Regions from separate parts of the Homo sapiens genome. Here region 2 is linked to region 1. The links are contacts of gene promoters, found by promoter capture Hi-C in human tissues and cell types (Jung and others, 2019). All regions are on one chromosome and are shown on one strand. Each heading gives the region's core, a stretch centred on a gene start or on the middle of the fragment in contact. The rest is flanking DNA. Distances are from core to core; before and after follow the strand shown. Region 1 holds the start of RBPMS2 (RNA binding protein, mRNA processing factor 2). Region 2 overlaps LOC124903507 (a long non-coding RNA gene).

The links. Contacts are between HindIII fragments. The study calls those that stand out against the background at their distance.
Region 2: a fragment that was not itself captured here is called in contact with the fragment with the promoter of RBPMS2 in region 1 in 8 of the 25 tissues and cell types used here (IMR-90 fibroblasts, bladder, heart right ventricle and 5 more).

Annotation. Positions count from the first base shown.
Region 1 is chr15:64,771,617-64,779,507 of GRCh38, forward strand. It overlaps RBPMS2 (RNA binding protein, mRNA processing factor 2), which reads right to left and starts at 3,973. Exons shown (of 8, transcript NM_194272.3): 1 at 3,617-3,973. The coding sequence starts at 3,703. RefSeq lists enhancers at 1-25, 3,834-4,680, 4,681-5,526 and a silencer at 4,149-4,398. The HindIII fragment of the contact is 13,175 bases long and covers 1-7,891 here.
Region 2 is chr15:64,706,258-64,714,148 of GRCh38, forward strand. LOC124903507 (a long non-coding RNA gene) reads left to right here. Exons shown (of 3, transcript XR_007064679.1): 2 at 6,320-6,448. Among named protein-coding and RNA genes, the nearest start is that of OAZ2, 6.9 kb to the left of the region's middle. RefSeq lists a silencer at 4,819-5,019. The HindIII fragment of the contact is 4,561 bases long and covers 1,603-6,163 here.

The DNA.
Region 1 (7,891 bases), core at 2,723-5,222:
GCCGAGATTGCGCCACTGCACCCCAATCTGGGCAACAGAGACTGTCTCAAAAACAAAACAAGGCTGGGCGCCGTGGCTCAGGCCTGTAATCCCAGCACTTTGGGAGACTGAGGTGGGCAGGTCACCTGAGGACAGGAGTTCAAGACCAGCCTGGCCAACATGGTGAAATCCTGTCTCTACTAAAAAACAAAAATTAGCCAGGTATGGTGGCGGGCACCTGTAATCCCAGCTACTCAGGAGGCTGAGGCAGGAGAATTGCTTGAACCTGGGAGGCAGAGGTTGCAGTGAGCTGAGATTGTGCCACTGCACTCCAGCCTGGGTGACAAGAGTGAAACTCCCCTTCAAACAAATAAAAAAATAACCTATGCACATTTTCTGGATACTTTAACTCATCTCTAGATTATTCACAATACCTAATACAATGTGAATGCTATGTAAATAGTTGTTATATTTATTTGTATTATTTTTTATTATTGTATTTTTTATCTACAACTGGATTCATGGATAGGGAACCCATAGAAATGGAAGGCCAACAGCAACTGTATTATGAAAGCAAGGTCTCCACTTTCAAAATAGAAATCACATTTACCCCTCTTCAGAGACATGGTAATTACCCAGTTATCCCTTGAGAATCACTAAGACAGGACATTTAGGTCTGAAGTTTGGCAGCACTGATACAGCCTGCCCCGGACAGGTTCATGTACTGTATTACCTCATGTCGTCCCCAGCTCCAGTCAAGACTTACCTGCAGGACAGCACAACCTCTAGATTGGGAGGGACATTCAGCTCCTCCCCTTAATTCCTTACTGCCCTCCTTAGCTTTCAAAGGGTATCAAAGCTTCGAACACATCTTCCCAAGTGGCAGAAAAATGCCAATTTTCCCGTAATACCACAGTCATTACTGCCCTAATTCCAAACTCTCATTATGGCTGCACTGCCTGATATTGCTGCAATATAGCAAACTCCAGGTAGTTACCCAAACAAGCCATGTGGTTACACAAACCTACCTCCTCACTTATACATGCGACTCCCTCCTCTTGGAATGCCTTTTCCACCCCCACAGGTCTAACCTTGCTCCTCCTACTCACCCACATCTCAGGGAAGGCTGACCTCTAATCTCTCAGGAGCACCATGGTACCATGTGCTCATATGCCTTTATTTTATCTATCATTGCATTTCACCTACCACCACTTCCTGGCAAGTCCTTCCGACCTCCTAGGCTGAGAATTTTCACTTGTATCCTTAACCCCTGGGTCCAGAAAGAAAACTTAATGCGTATGACATGGATAAAGCCTATAGGTAAGGTAGTCAAGCAGGCAGAGTCAAGGCTATCCAAAGCAGTTCAGGACAAGCAACCTCACTGATAACTCCCAGAACCATGAAAAATACACTCCCTTCGCCAGTGACCCAGCGCCTTTAGGAATTGAGGTCTTACGGCGTGCAGCAGCATTCCTTGGTTTCCTGGGCTTGCTCTCGCTAGTCTCCAAGAGTTGACTGGGAAGAAGCCACCTGTGTCAGCCATGGGAGTAAACCACTGCTAACGCTGATTCTCCAGATGGTTGCTCTTAGGGGCTGCAGAACTGACTGCTTAGGGAGCATCTAAACTACAGGGAGGATTCCAGTTCCAGCCTACACCACCAATCCAAGATGGAGCCACCAGCACAGGGGCTCATGGCCCACTATTCAGAAGACTAGGCCAGGGCTTGGGGAATAACCCTTTCCCTTACCAGACCAGACAGACACTGGGCTCCAGGAGACCCTCAGAACCCTTTGTTCTGGACCTCTGCTAAACGCGAGCCCACCATGCCCTTTTCCAAGTGCGCGGATTTGGAACCACCATAGGGCCGCAGGCCATCTCAACTCCCAAGGAGGAATAGTAGGGATTCCACTTTTTGAGAATCCTGCCCTCTTTCCCAGAAAAGGTACTTAGAAAGGAGTGGCTAAAACCTCAAATGCTTTTTTCAAGACTTAGAATGGCCACATGGGTCACCCTTCTCACCCAACAGCAGTGGGTCTGAGGGTTTGCCCAGTACCAGCCTCTTGGGCAGTGTGAAGTCCCCACTGAAGTAGACCCTTTAGCAGAAGTGGGGTTCTGGGTCCCCATTCAGCTTTATAGGAGACATGCTCTCCCCCAGTTTCAGCCCACAGCAGGGGGCCAAGCAGAGACTCCAAGTACGCTAGCAACCCTGTCACCCTCCCCAACTGTCAAGGGAGATTCTAACAGCCAGGTAGAGTCAGGATGGGGGCAAGATCCCCAAAGCCAAGGGCCTTTTGGCATCAAGGTACAAGGAGGGCAAGGCCTCTGGAGCCCAAACAAATCCACCACACTTAAGTCATTAGTGGACAGATGTCACAGTTGTATATTCTTCCCTTCCCCTTCCGCCAAAAAGTGGAGATCCAAACCTAGATTGTCATCGACTGGGGCTGGCTGAAGGTCTCTGAATAGCCGAGTGGGAGCTGGCGGCGCTGAGCCCAGCCCAGCCGAGGGCCACCGGCGCCATTCTGCACCAACCCCCAGCACAAGGGGAGGAGGCAACACCAGTCCACACCAGGGGCTCTGCGGTTTCTCCCCCAGGCCAAGGGGAAGGGCGCCCAAGGTGGATAACCAGCCCTTGGTTTCCTGGGCGAGAACATGCCAGGGCAGGGGCAGGAAGGCTCTCTCACCCCTAGAATGACGCAGCAGAGGCCAGAGGCCCTGCGAAGCCTGTCCCCTTCTACTCCAGTTCTTGTCTCCGCCAGCCTAGCTCCTCGTCCCTATTCACTGATATCTTTGAGGCTTTTATCCAGCACCCCACCCCGCACACACATCCTCCCTACCATCCATTAACCACCCAGCTGCTGGTGGTTCCACGGAGCCGCCTTACACTCCCTCCCTTTCGCACATGGCCGGTGGACGAGATGATTTCGCCCCTCCTGGCAGGATCCCACCCAGGCCAGCTTTGGGGTCCTGGCTTGGTTGCCAGGACAAACCCAGAGAGAGGAGAAGGACGAACTGAGTGTCTTTAGTCATCTTCCAAACTAATTAAATTGTGGGCTCACCTCTGCCAAAGCCCAGGTTCTGGGGCTGTGAAGAAAGCCCGCCCACCCCCATGACAACAGCTCGCAGGAACCGAGGAGCCGGCCGGCCCAGGCCTCCAAGGTCACGGGGAGGGGGTCAGGGCGGAAAAGGCAGTGGAGTGAGGGTGCCGCCCTCGGGCCGTGCTAATCCCGCTCCGCTCCGTGCCGCCGAGGCGGGGTCCTGGCCACGCAGGAGGTGCGCCTCGGAGGAGGGCGGCGAGCGGCTACGGGGTGGGGAGCAAGGGGCGCGCGGGCGGCAGGCATGGAACGGACGCGGCGCATCTCGCCCACCGCGGGACGCCCGGACGGCGGCCGGCGCGCGCGGCCCGCCTCGAGCCCGAGAGGGCGGGGAGACAATGCCTGTCCGGCGGGGCAGTCCAGGCCGCACGCTCCCGCCCGCGGACACGGGCCGCTCCTACCCGGGCGAGAGGGCAGCGGCGGGAAGGCGCCGGGAGCGATGGCCACCCCGGCCCCGCGAGGCGCGGCAGGCCCCGCTCGCCCTCTCCCGCGCCCGCCTGGCGTGCGCTTCACCCGGCAAGTCCCGGGGCCACAGACCCACCTCCTCCTCCAGGGCGCCGCCGGAGCCCGCGCCGGAGCCGGTGCCGGTGCTGCCGCCGTGCTCGCCGTCCGGCTTCAGGTTGCTCATGGTGCGGGGGAGGGGGCGGCGGGAAGGAACGCGAGGGCGAGCGCGGCGCCGGCCCCGCGGGAAGTGGGAAGGGGCGCGGGGAGCGGTGCGCTCGCGGGTGCGGAGCGGGTGGCGGGGGACCCACGGGGCAGTGAGAGGGGCAGCCTCCGCGTCGGGCCAGGGTCACATCAAGTTTGGCGGGTGCGGAAGGTGGGGAGGGGGTGCGGCGGGGGAGGCAGTGGGAGCCGGAGGGGCCGCCGCCTCCGCCTTTTCACTGCGACCGGCGAGTGCGCCGCGGCGGCGGCGGCGGCGGCAGCGGCGGCGGGGGGCGGGCGCCGGGGGAGGGGGCGGGCGCCGGCGGCGGGGGGCGGGGCCGGAACCGGCCTCAGCTGGGGCCCGGCCAGCCCCCTCCCCCGCCCGCCGCGCGGTCTCCGGGGGAACGCGCAGCCAATCCCCACCGCCCACCGTGGGCTCGCCCCGGCCCCGGCCGCGGGGCGCCGGCCTCCGGCCGGGCCTTTCCCCTCTCTCTCGCCTGGGTCAGCGCTCTCCCTCTCTCCTCTTCCCCCGCGCCCTTCTCCACGGCGAGTTTTTAAACTTTGATGAACTCGCCCGGCGAACTTTCTTAAAGGGGCCGCGCGCTGCGCGCCCCAGCCCGCGGGAGGTGGAGCCCCGTGCCCCGCACCCAGCGCCCCGGTCCCTGGGCGGCCCTGCCCGGGCGGCCTCGCGCTTAGGGCACCCGCAGCGAGGTTTCCGGGCCGTCGACTCCCCTTGTATCTTGATCTAGGGTTTTGGGGTTCCCGACGCACTCATTCTGCCCCTAAATCCAGTCGCGCAGACCTCAGCTCCGGGGGACCGAGTTCTGGGGGTGATGGCCGGGGGGAGGGGGTTGGGAGACACCTGAGCTTTGGCCCGGGCTGGGCGCTGTTTTGCTGAGTGACCTTGAGGAAATCACTTCCCCTCTCTGGCCTCAGGCTCCCAGCCCAGAGGGTGGGACTTAGGATCTCAAACTCCCTTCCCACTCCCAGTCACTATCTGAATAGGACTTAGGTGGGGATTCGAGTGTTGGGACCCCAATGGTCATTAGCGAGGGCTGCCTCGAATGACCAAGAAGGTTCTGTTGCCCACCTTGCCCTCAACACGCCTGGCTTTCGGGTCTTCTCGCTCCTCCCCCGACCTCAGTGCCCCTCACACCTTTCCCTGCCTCCTATTCTGAGCCCGAAGGCTGGGGACGGATGTAATAGCCTAGAGGCTGGGGGAGGTGGGGGAGGTCGTCGTGACTCCCCCCGCACCCCCGCGCAGGTCAGTAGGGCGCGGCCTCTGGGTCGGTTTTCTCTTCTATTTGAAAACCCAGCCGATGGGGGCCCGCCCTGCTGCCACAGTAGAAACCCGCACCCACCTCGGGGAGCGCTGGAAGCGCTGCAGCCTGAATCCGGCAGAGCCGCGGGAGAACTGGGTCCCTCCTCAGTGCCCCTTCTCCTGGACGGGGCGGAGGTTGCGGTGACCCGAGATCTTGCCATTGCACTCCAGCCAGGGCAACAAGAGCGAAACTCCGTCTCAAAAAAAGAAAAGAAAAAAGAAAAGCTGGATTTGCAGTCACGGACTGGTTAGGATCCCAGACCGTGGACAAGTGCCTGAGCCCCCAGAACCTCTGTGTGTCGACCTCCTGAATTAGGTAGGACTAGCACCACAGGATCACTGTGCTGTGGCTTAGTCTTCCCAGTAAATTATAATCTCCATCCTGACCTGCCATCTCACAGATAAATTGAGGCCTAGAGATGGGCAATGTCTTTCCAATGATATACTCATTCCTTTAGTAAATAATTATTGAGCACCTACTGTGGGCTGGGGACCATTTTCTGCTGGTGGCAAGGCCAAGAGCACCCTGGTTTCCCATCAGCCCTGTTGCCAACACTTGGCTCAGGCCCTATGAAGAGGGAGCTGCTGCCTGTAGGAGCCAGACCTTTACCCAGAGTTTTTAAGATGCCTCCAGCCTCAGGCATCTCCAGATAGAACCAACCTTGGGAACCCTCAGATACCCCTACCATCCTCCACAGGCCTCAGTCCAATCTGGCTGTGGGCTTGATCACCATCCCCTCCCCTAGAATAGGTCTTCCTATCAGGTTTGTCTCTAACTTTGGCCCAGGAATACTCTTCCTCTTCCTCTTCCTCCCCCGCTCCCCCTAATCAATCCAAAATCTTCCCTTCCCTCAAGATCCTGCCTTTCCCATGCTTTTTCCAGGAGAAGGAGCCTGGCCAGATTTCTGAACTCAGCCATTATATGGTTAATTTGAATTTTTCAAAGAAGAGCCTCTCATCTTGTAATTCTGGTCACCCTTCTTCTCCATTCTGGTCTCTGTTTTCTCCATAGATGGGAGAGCTAAGGCCCAAAAAGGTGACAAATGACACAGGGGCCACAACTGACCCCCATCACTACATTTCTTTTCTTTTTTCATTTTTTTTTTTTTTGTTTTGGGGGCTTTTTTGAGATGCAGTCTTGCTCTGTTGCCAGACTGGAGTGCAGTGATGCGATCTCGGCTCACTGCAACCTCCACCTCCCAGTTTCAAGCTATTCTGCCTCAGCCTCCTGAGTAGCTGGGACTACAGGAACGCACAACCACGCCCAGCTAACTTTTGTATTTTTAGTAGAGACGGTTTCCCCATGTTGGTGAGGATGATCTTGATCTCTTGACCTTGTAATCTGCCCCCATCAGCCTCCCAAAGTGCTGAGATTACAGGCGTGAGCCACCGCGCCCGGCCTTCTTTTCTTTTTTTAGAAAAAAGATCTTGCTCTGTCACCCAAGCTGGAGTGCAGTGGCACAATCACAGCTCACTCCAGCCTTGAACTCCTGGGCTCAAGTGATCCTTCTACCTCAGCCTCCCAGGTAGCTGTGATTACAGGTGCAACACCACGCCCAGCTAATTTTTTTTTTTTTTTTTTAAGAGACTGGCCTCTCATTATGTTGTCCCAAGCTGGTGTTGAACTCCTGGGCTCAAGTGATCCTCCCACCTTGGCCTCCCAAAGTGCTGGTATTATAGGCGTGAGCCACCACACCCAGCCTGTATTTCTTCTTAAGTTCTTCATAATTTGTAGTAAATGCTTACCCCTTATTAGACTGCCATTACTTATTTAACCTGTCTCTTGTTAGATATTTGTATTATTTCCAGTTTATTTTCTCTTTTGCCTTCATAGGCAAACTTTATATGAGGATTCTTTTTTTTTTCTTTTTCTTTGAGACGGAGTCTCACTATGTCACCAGGCTTGAGTGCAGTGCATCCTCCATCTCCCAGGTTCGAGCAGTTCTCGTGCCTCAGCCTCCTGAGTAGCTGGGATTACAGGTGCCTGCCACCACACTCGCTGTCACACCTGGCTAATTTTTGTATTTTTAGTAGGGACAAGGTTTCACCGTGTTGGCCAGGCTGGTCTTGAACTCCTGGCCTCAAGTAATCTGCTCACCTTGGCCTCTCAAAGTGCTGAGATTACAGGCATGAGCCCGCCCTCTTATATGAGCATTCTTAATGCCTCAGAAAGTTTCCTGTATGTGTGACCAGCCCTTAAGCACTTTGGAGGCAACAACTGTCTTTTCCCTCTCTGTGCACCCCTATGGCCCCTGAAATGGCAGAATCTCCAATCTCACATGGATTTGGAGATCATATAAACACAAAGCTCCCACCCAGCCCGCACCTTCATGAGTAGTCAGGCGTACCCATTGGTGCTGACCAGAAGCTGATGTGAAAGAGGCTAGAGAGAGGAGTTTGGGGTGTACAACTCTTTCAGACATCTGAAGGGTAGGAACTTATATCTCTGTCTCCCCAGCTATGACCTAGTAGTGTAGCCTCTAGTAATCTCTTCAGTGCCCCAGGCCTCCCCCACTGTCATGCTCCATATCACCTCTGAGCTTCTCGAATTTCTATTCCTTTTGTCTGGAATCCTCCCATCCTCACTCTCCACCCCCAGCTTCCAGACCTTTCCCAGTACCCATTCTCTCTCCCCTGTGCTCTCAGAGTGCCTTCTCTGTGTCGTGTTGAACCTGGGAATACCTTGTTTTGAAGTCTCACCTACCACATGGGAAGCTTTCTGACTCCAAGGAGTGGCTGTAAACCCTGCTGAGTGAGTAGAACTCCTTAACCTCTGCAGCCCCCTGGCCTCCAGCAAGGAGCAGATGATGGTGGGCATTTTCAGTAGTAGGTGTTTAATAAACCTTTGCTGAA
Region 2 (7,891 bases), core at 2,633-5,132, 65 kb before region 1:
TTTCTCAGCATCCTTGCTTTATCTGAAACTTGGCTATCCACTAACCGCTGCTTCTCCAGCAGCTCTATTAGGTGAATTCTGTTTCTCATTCTCACGTGCCTCAGTGTCAGAAGTGGGTAAGTGTATTCCTCTCCATCCCAATGCCATTTCTAGACCAGTGTTTATCTTCCCCTCCCTCCCACAAAATCCCTGTTCCATTGGGGCTTCACCCTCTAGATATACTATCTTGGTTAATGTCATTAGCCAGCCTCCTGGTTGATGCCCCTTATTTGGCTCATGGCTTGCTGCCTCTCCGCCCCAAATTTTGTCATATTTGGTGAGCTCAAGGTCCACATGATGGCCTCTCAGCCACGCTCCTCTCACTTCCTCGACTTTCTCATCTCCGGTAAGATTTTCAGCACTCCACTGTAGCTGCTAACACACCCTCAACTTTGTTTTCACCAAAAATCATTTCACGTCCAAAATATTGACTCTCCAACCATAACCTTTGCCTTAATTAAACCTTTCAACAAGTCTTTGACCTGTATCAGGAGCTTAACGCTTGACCTCACTAATTCCTCACTATTCATTAGCCCTAAGTTTTTTGTTTGTTTTTTTTAAGAGGAAGAAACTTGTTAAGAGAGATGAGAAAGTAACCTGTCTATGACTGAGCGTGGCAACTCATTCCTATAATCTCAACACTTTGAGAGGCCGAAGTGGGAGGATCACTTGAGCCCAGGAGTTTAAGATTAGCTGTGGGTAATGAGGAGACCCTATAAAAATTTTAAAAAAAAGCCAGCGTGGGGACACACACCTGTGGTTCCAACTACTCGGGAGGCTGCAGTAGGAGGATCGCTTGAGCCTGGGAGGTCAAGGCTGCAGTGAGCTGTGACTGCACCACTGCATTCCAGCCTGGGTGACAGACTAAGACCCTGCCTCAACTTAAAAAACAAAAGAGGCCGGGCGTTGTGGCTCACGCCTGTAATCCCAGCACTTTGGGAGGCCGAGGCGGGCGGATCATGAGGTCAGGAGATCGAGGCCATCCTGGCTAACATGGTGAAACCCCGTCTCTACTAAAAATACAAAAAATTAGCCGGGCGTGGTGGAGGGCACCTGTAGTCCCAGCTACTCGGGAGGCTGAGGCAGGAGAATGGCGTGAACCTGGGAGGCGGAACTTGCAGTGAGCTGAGATCACACCACTGCACTCCAACCTGGGCAACAGAGTGAGACTCCGTCTCAGAAAAAAAGAAAAAAGAAAACGAAAGGAACCTATCTAATGTGTCAAAGCTTTAGTGCAAATACTTGGGTCCAAACTCAGTAGTCACTGTTACCAATTGCAGATTTTTACATAGGACTGAATTATATGGTAAGCCACAGAAATTTGGAATAACTGAAACTCTCCTATTTGAGTCCACTGCCAGCTAATGATACTGTTTTTTTCTGTTTCCCTTGGCAAAGAGAGATAGTAGTTTATTAGAAAAGTAGTCGAGAACCATAAGTGTGAAATTATGTTAAAATAGTTCCCACAAAAATCATTATTTCTTTATGCATATTTTTAAAATTTTAACAAAGATTGTATACATTTATGGTGTACATCACGTTTTCATATATGTATACATTGTAGAAGAGTTAATCAATGATTAAATTTTTTTTTTTTTTTTTTTTTTTTTGAGACGGAGTCTCGCTCTGTCACCCAGGCCAGAGTGCAGTGGCACGATCTTGGCTCACTGCAACTTCCACCTCCCAGGTTCAAGCGATTCTCCTGCCTTAGCCTCCTGAATAGCTGGGATTACAGGCTTGCGCCACCAAGCCTGGCTAATTTTTGTATTTTTAGTAGAGACGGGGTTTTGCCATGTTGGCCAGGCTGGTCTCGAACTCCTGACCTCAAGTGATCCGCACACCTCAGTCTCCCAAAGTGCTGGGATTACAGGCATGAGCCACTGCACCCGGCCAAATCAAGCTTTTTAACATATTTATTATCTTACATCCTTATCATTTTTTTGCAAATATACACTATGTTGTTAACTCTAGCCATCATGATGTAACATAGATCTCTTGAACTTACTCCTCTTGTCTAACTGAAAATTTGTGTCCTTTGACTAACACTTTTCCAATTCCTCTACCTGCCCCCGGCCTCTGGTGACCATCATTTTACTCTCTATTTCTATGAGTTTGACTTTTTGTTTTGTTTATTTGACACAGGGTCTCATTCTTTTGCCTAGGCTGGAGTGCAGTGGAACCAGCATAGCTCACTGGAGCCTCAAATTCCTGGCCTGAAAGGATCCTCCTGCCTCAGCCTACCGAGTAGCTAGGACCACAGGCACATGCCACCATGCCTAGCTAATTGTTTTTTACTCTTTTCTCCAGAGACAGGGTTTCCCTGTGTTGCCCAGGCTGGTCTCAAACTCCTGGTCTCAAGGGATCCTCCTGTCTCAGCCTCCCAAAGCAATGAATGGGATTACAGGTCTGAGCCACCATTCTTGGTCTAAGCTTGATTTTTTTCACACTCTACATGTAAGTGAAATCATGCAGTATTTCTTGTTTTGTGCCTGGTTTATTTCACATAACATAACATCTCCCAGGTTCATCCATGTTGTCGCAAATGATACAGTTTCCTTCTTTTTTTAAGGCTGAATAGTACCCCGTTGTCTATATGTACATTTTTCTTTATTCATTCGTGTGTTGTTGGGCACTGTGGTTGTTTCCATGTGTTGGCTGTTGTGAATAATGCTGCAATGAACATGGGAATACAAATCTCTTTGACATGCTAATTTCAGGTCCTTTGGATATATACCCAGTAGTGGGATTCCTGGATCATAAAGTAGTTCTATTCTTAATGTTTTTTATTTTTTATTTTGAGATGGAGTCTCACTCTCTCACCCAGGCTGGAGTGCAGCGGAGCGATCTCAGCTCACTGCAACCTCCGCCTCCCAGGTTCAAGCGATTCTCCTATCTCAGCCTCCGGAGTAGCTGAGATTACAGGCACACGCCACCACGCCCAGCTAATTTTTTGTATTTTTAGTAGAGACAGGGTTTCACCATGTTGGCCAAGCTGGTCTCAAACTCCTGACCTTGTGATTTGCCTGCCTTGGCCTCCCAAAGTGCTGGGATTATAGGCATGAGCCTCCATGCCCAGACTATTCTTAATGTTTTGAGGAACCGCCATACTGTTTTCCATAAAGGCTATACTAATTCACATTCCCACCAACAGGGTGCAAGGGTTCCCTTTTCTCTGCATCCAGACCAACACTTGTCTTTTGTCTTGTTTTTTCTTTGAGATGGAGTTTCACTCTGTTGTCCAGGCTGGAGTGCAGTGACGTGATTGCAGCTCACTGCAAGCTCCACCTCCTGGGCTCAAGTGATTCTCCTGCTTCAGCCTCCCAAGTAGCTGGGATTACAGGCACCCACCACCACACCCATCTAGTTTTTGTATTTTTAGTAGAGACAGGGTTTCTCCATGTTGGCCAGGCTGGTCTTGAACTCCTGACCTCAAGTGATCCACCCACCTCAGCCTCCCAAAGTGCTGAGATAACAGGCATGAGCCACCATGCCTGACCATCTTTTATCTTTTTAATAATATAATAGTAGTCCTAATTTTGACTCACATCTCTTCTTTTCTTTTTATTTTTTTTTTATTTTTTTTTTTGAGATGGAGTCTCACTCTGTCACCCAGGCTGGAGTGCAGTGGCGCGATCTCGGCTCACTGCAAGCTCTGCCTCCTGGGTTCATGCCATTCTCCTGCCTCAGCCTCCCGTGTAGCTAGGACTACAGGCGCCCGCCACCATGCCCAGCTAATTTTTTGTATTTTTAGTAGAGACGGGGTTTCACCGTGTTAGCCAGGATGGTCTTGATCTCTTGACCTTGTGATCCACCTGCCTCGGCCTCCCAGAGTGCTGGGATTACAGGCGTGAGCCACCGTGCCCGGTCTTTTTTTTTTTTTGCACTCTGTCGCTGAGGATGGAGTATAATTGTGCAATCTCAGCTCCCAGATCCCTTCTTTTCTAGCTTCTTTTTTTCTTTTCTTTTTTTTTTTTTTTTGAGACAGTCTTGCTCTGTTGCCCAGGCTGGAGTGCAGTGGTGTGATCTCTGCTCACTGCAACCTCCGCCTCCCAGATTCAAGCAGTTCTCTGACTCAGCCTCCCGAGTAGCTGGGATCACAAGCACCCATCACAACACCTGGCTAATTTTTGTATTTTTAGTAAAGACAGGATTTCACCATCTTGGCCAGGCTGGTCTTGAACTCCTGACCTTGTGATCCACCTGCCTCGGCCTCCCAAAGTGCTGGGATTACAGGCGTGAGTCACCGTGCCCGGCTTTTTTTTTTTTTTTTAAGACAGGGTCTTGCTCTGTCACCTAGTCTGGAGTCCAGTGGCGCCATCTCGGCTCACTGCAACCTCTGCCTCCTGGATTCTCCTGCCTCAGCCTCCCAAGTAGCTGGGACTACAGGCACATGCCACCATACCCAGCTAATTTTTGTATTTTGGGTGGAGATGGGGTTTCGCCATATTGCCCAGGCTGGTCTTGAATTCCTGGGCTCAAATGATCTGCCCGCCTTGGCCTCCCAAAGTGCTGAGATTACAGGCATGAGCCACCACGCCCAGCCTTTTCTAGCTTGTCTATCATCCATCACTATAACTACTCCTTCCCTCTGTCTCCTCCCATTGTGCTTGCCTGGCAAAGCCCTACTCCACATAAATTCAACCATTTGCTTTCCGAGTGCTTTTGCTACAGCAAAATCACAATACCAGGCAGGTTATCTTCACTCATGTTCATGATCCTAACCTCAAACGGACTGTCAATACTGCTGGGTAATTCCTACTACGTTTCCCCATTAAGTTTGCTTTTCCACTCTCAAGAAGAATTTTTTCCCTAGGCTCTCTCTGCAAAACCTCTACCCCTCTCATCTTAGCTGATGACCTAGCCACCATGTTACTAAGGAAATAGAAGCAATAGGAAATACCCTGTCATTCCTACCACAGCCTACAAACCCATCTGCATCTCCGCCTACTTACATCTGTCTCCTCCTAGTGCTCTGAGAAGTGGATGTCCCTTTGCTAAAGACTAGCCAATCCTGGCCAGGCACAGTGGCTCACACCTATAATCCCAGGAGTTTGGGAGGCCAAGGCAGGCAGATTGCTTGAGCCCAGGAGTTTGAGACCAGCCTGGGCAATGTAAAGAGACCCCCATCTCTACAAAAAAATGTAAAAAATTAGCCAGGCGTGCTGATACACCCCTGTAGTCCCAGCTACTTGGGAGGCTGAGGTAGGAGGATAGCTTGGGCCCAGGAGGTTGAGGCTACAGTGAGCTGTGATCATGCCACTGCACTCCAGCCTGGATGACCCTGTCTATAAAAAAAAAAAAAAAAAAAAAAAAAAAAAAAAAAAAAACTAGCCAATAAAAACTAGCCAATCCCACGGCAAAACCTATGGAACTTCCTCTCTCCCATCTTCAAGGACCTAGTTCCTAAAATCTAAATCTCCCCCTTCAGCACACAAACATGCTCTCTAGTCTTTAAAAAATAGTAACACAGGCTGGGTGCAGTGGCTCACGCCTGTAATCCCAGCACTTTGGGAGGCCGAGGCGGGCAGATCACAAGATCAGGAGTTCAAGACCAACCTGACCAATATAGTGAAACCCCGCCTCTACTAAAAATACAATAATTAGCCAGGCATGGTGGCACACACCTGTAGTCCCAGCTACTCAGGAGGCTGAGGCAAGAGACTCACTTGAACCCAGGAGGTGGAGGTTGCAGTGAGCCAAGATTGCTCCACTGCATCCCAGCCTGGGCGACAGAGCGAGACTCTGTCTCAAAAAAAAAAAAAAAAAAAAAAGTAACATAGTCACTCTGGAAAACAGTTTGGCATTTTCTTAAAAAACTAAACATGCAGCTACCACATGACCAAGAAATTGCATGCCTGGGCATTTATCCCAGAGAAATGAAGACTTATGTTCACACAAAAACCGGTACATATATGTTCATAGCAGCTTTATCCATAATAATAGCAAAAACTTAAAATTAGCTCAGGTATCCTTCAGTAGGTGAATGGTTAAAGAAACCATGGTGCATCCACACCATGGAATATTGCTCAGCAACAAACAGGAATGAACTATCAACACACAGCAACTTGGATGACTCTCCAAGGAATTATGCTGGTTATTTGTTGTTGTTTTGAGACAGGGTCTCACTCTGTGGCCCAGACTGGCATGTAGTGGCATGATCACAGTTCACTGCAGCCTCACCTCTAACTTCCAATCTCAAGTGATCCTCCCACCTCAGCCTCACAAGTAGCTGGGACTATAAGTGTGCACCACATCAGGCTAATTTTTTTATTTTTTGTAGAGATGGGATCTCACTATGTTGCCCAGGCTGGTCTGAAACTCCTGGAATCAAGCAATCCTCCTGCCGCATCCTCCCAAAGTGCTGGGATTACAGACATGAGCCAACGAGCCTGGCCCTGATTTTAAAAAGGTTACATACTGTATGATTCTATTTATATAACAGCTTGTTTTTTTGTTTTTGTTTTTTGAGACACAGTCTCGCGCTGTAGCCCATGCTGGAGTGCAGTGGCGCAATCTCGGCTCACTGCAAGCTCTGCCTCCTGGGTTCATGCCATTCTCCTGCCTCAGCCTCCCTCCCAAGTAGCTGGGACTACAGGTGCCCGCTACCACGCCTGGCTAATCTTTTGTATTTTTAGTAGAGACGGGGTTTCACCGTGTTAGCCAGGATGGTCTCGATCTCCTGACCTCGTGATCCGCCCACCTCAGCCTCCCAAAGTGCTGGGATTACAGGCGGGAGTCACCACGCCCAGCCTGGTTTTTTTGTTTTTTGAGACAGGGTCTCGTTCTGTCACCCACGTTGGAGTGCAGTGGCACAATCTCGTCCACTGCAGCCTTCGCCTCCTGGGTTCAAGCAATTCTCCTGCCTCAGCCTCCTGAGTAGCTGTGATTACAGGTGTGTACCACCATGACTGGCTAATTTTTTTATTTTTAGGAGAGACGGGGTTTCACCATGTTGGCCAGGCTGGTCTTGAACTTCTGGCCTCAGATGATTCACCTGCCTCGGGCTTCCAAAGTGCTGGGATTACAGGTGTGAGCCACCGCACCCGGCCTTATATAACGGTTTTTGAAATGACAAAATTTTCGACCGGGCATGGTAGCTCACGCCTATAATCCTAGCACTGTGGGAGGCCGAGATGGGCAGATCACCTGAGGCCAGGAGTTTGAGACCAGCCTGGTCAATATGGCAAAACCCCATCTCTACCAAAAATTTAAAAAAATCAGTCACTGTGGTGGTGGGCACCTATAATCTCAGTTACTCGGAAGGCTGAGGCAGGAGAATCTCTTGAACCCGGAAGGCGTAGGTTGCAGTGAGCCAAGATTGCTCCATTGCTTCCAGCCTGGACAACAAAAGCGAAATTCCATCCCCCCAAAAAAAAAAGAGAGAGATAACAAAATTTTCAAAATGAAGGTTGCCAGGAGTTTGGAATGGGGCCTGGGAGGAGTCAGGAGGGAAACACGTGTGGATATCAAAGGGCAACCCTGAGGGATCTTTGTGGTATTGGAACTGTTCAGCAGTGGAGGATATACGAACCTACATGTGTGATGAAATTGTATTGAACTACACACCCATACACACACACACACACACACACACTCACACACTAGTACAAATAAAACTGGGGACATCTGAGTAAGTTTGGTGGATTTTATCAATGTCGATATCCTGGTTATGATACTGTGCGATAGTTTTGTAGAATGCTACCACTGGGGTAACTGGGAAAAGTGTGTAAGGGATCTCTCACTATTACTTCTTATTGCATGTAAGTCTACAATTACCTCAATAAAGCGTTTTTTTGTTTTTTTTTTTTTGAGACGGAGTCTCACTCTGTCACCCAGGCTGGAGTGCAGTGGT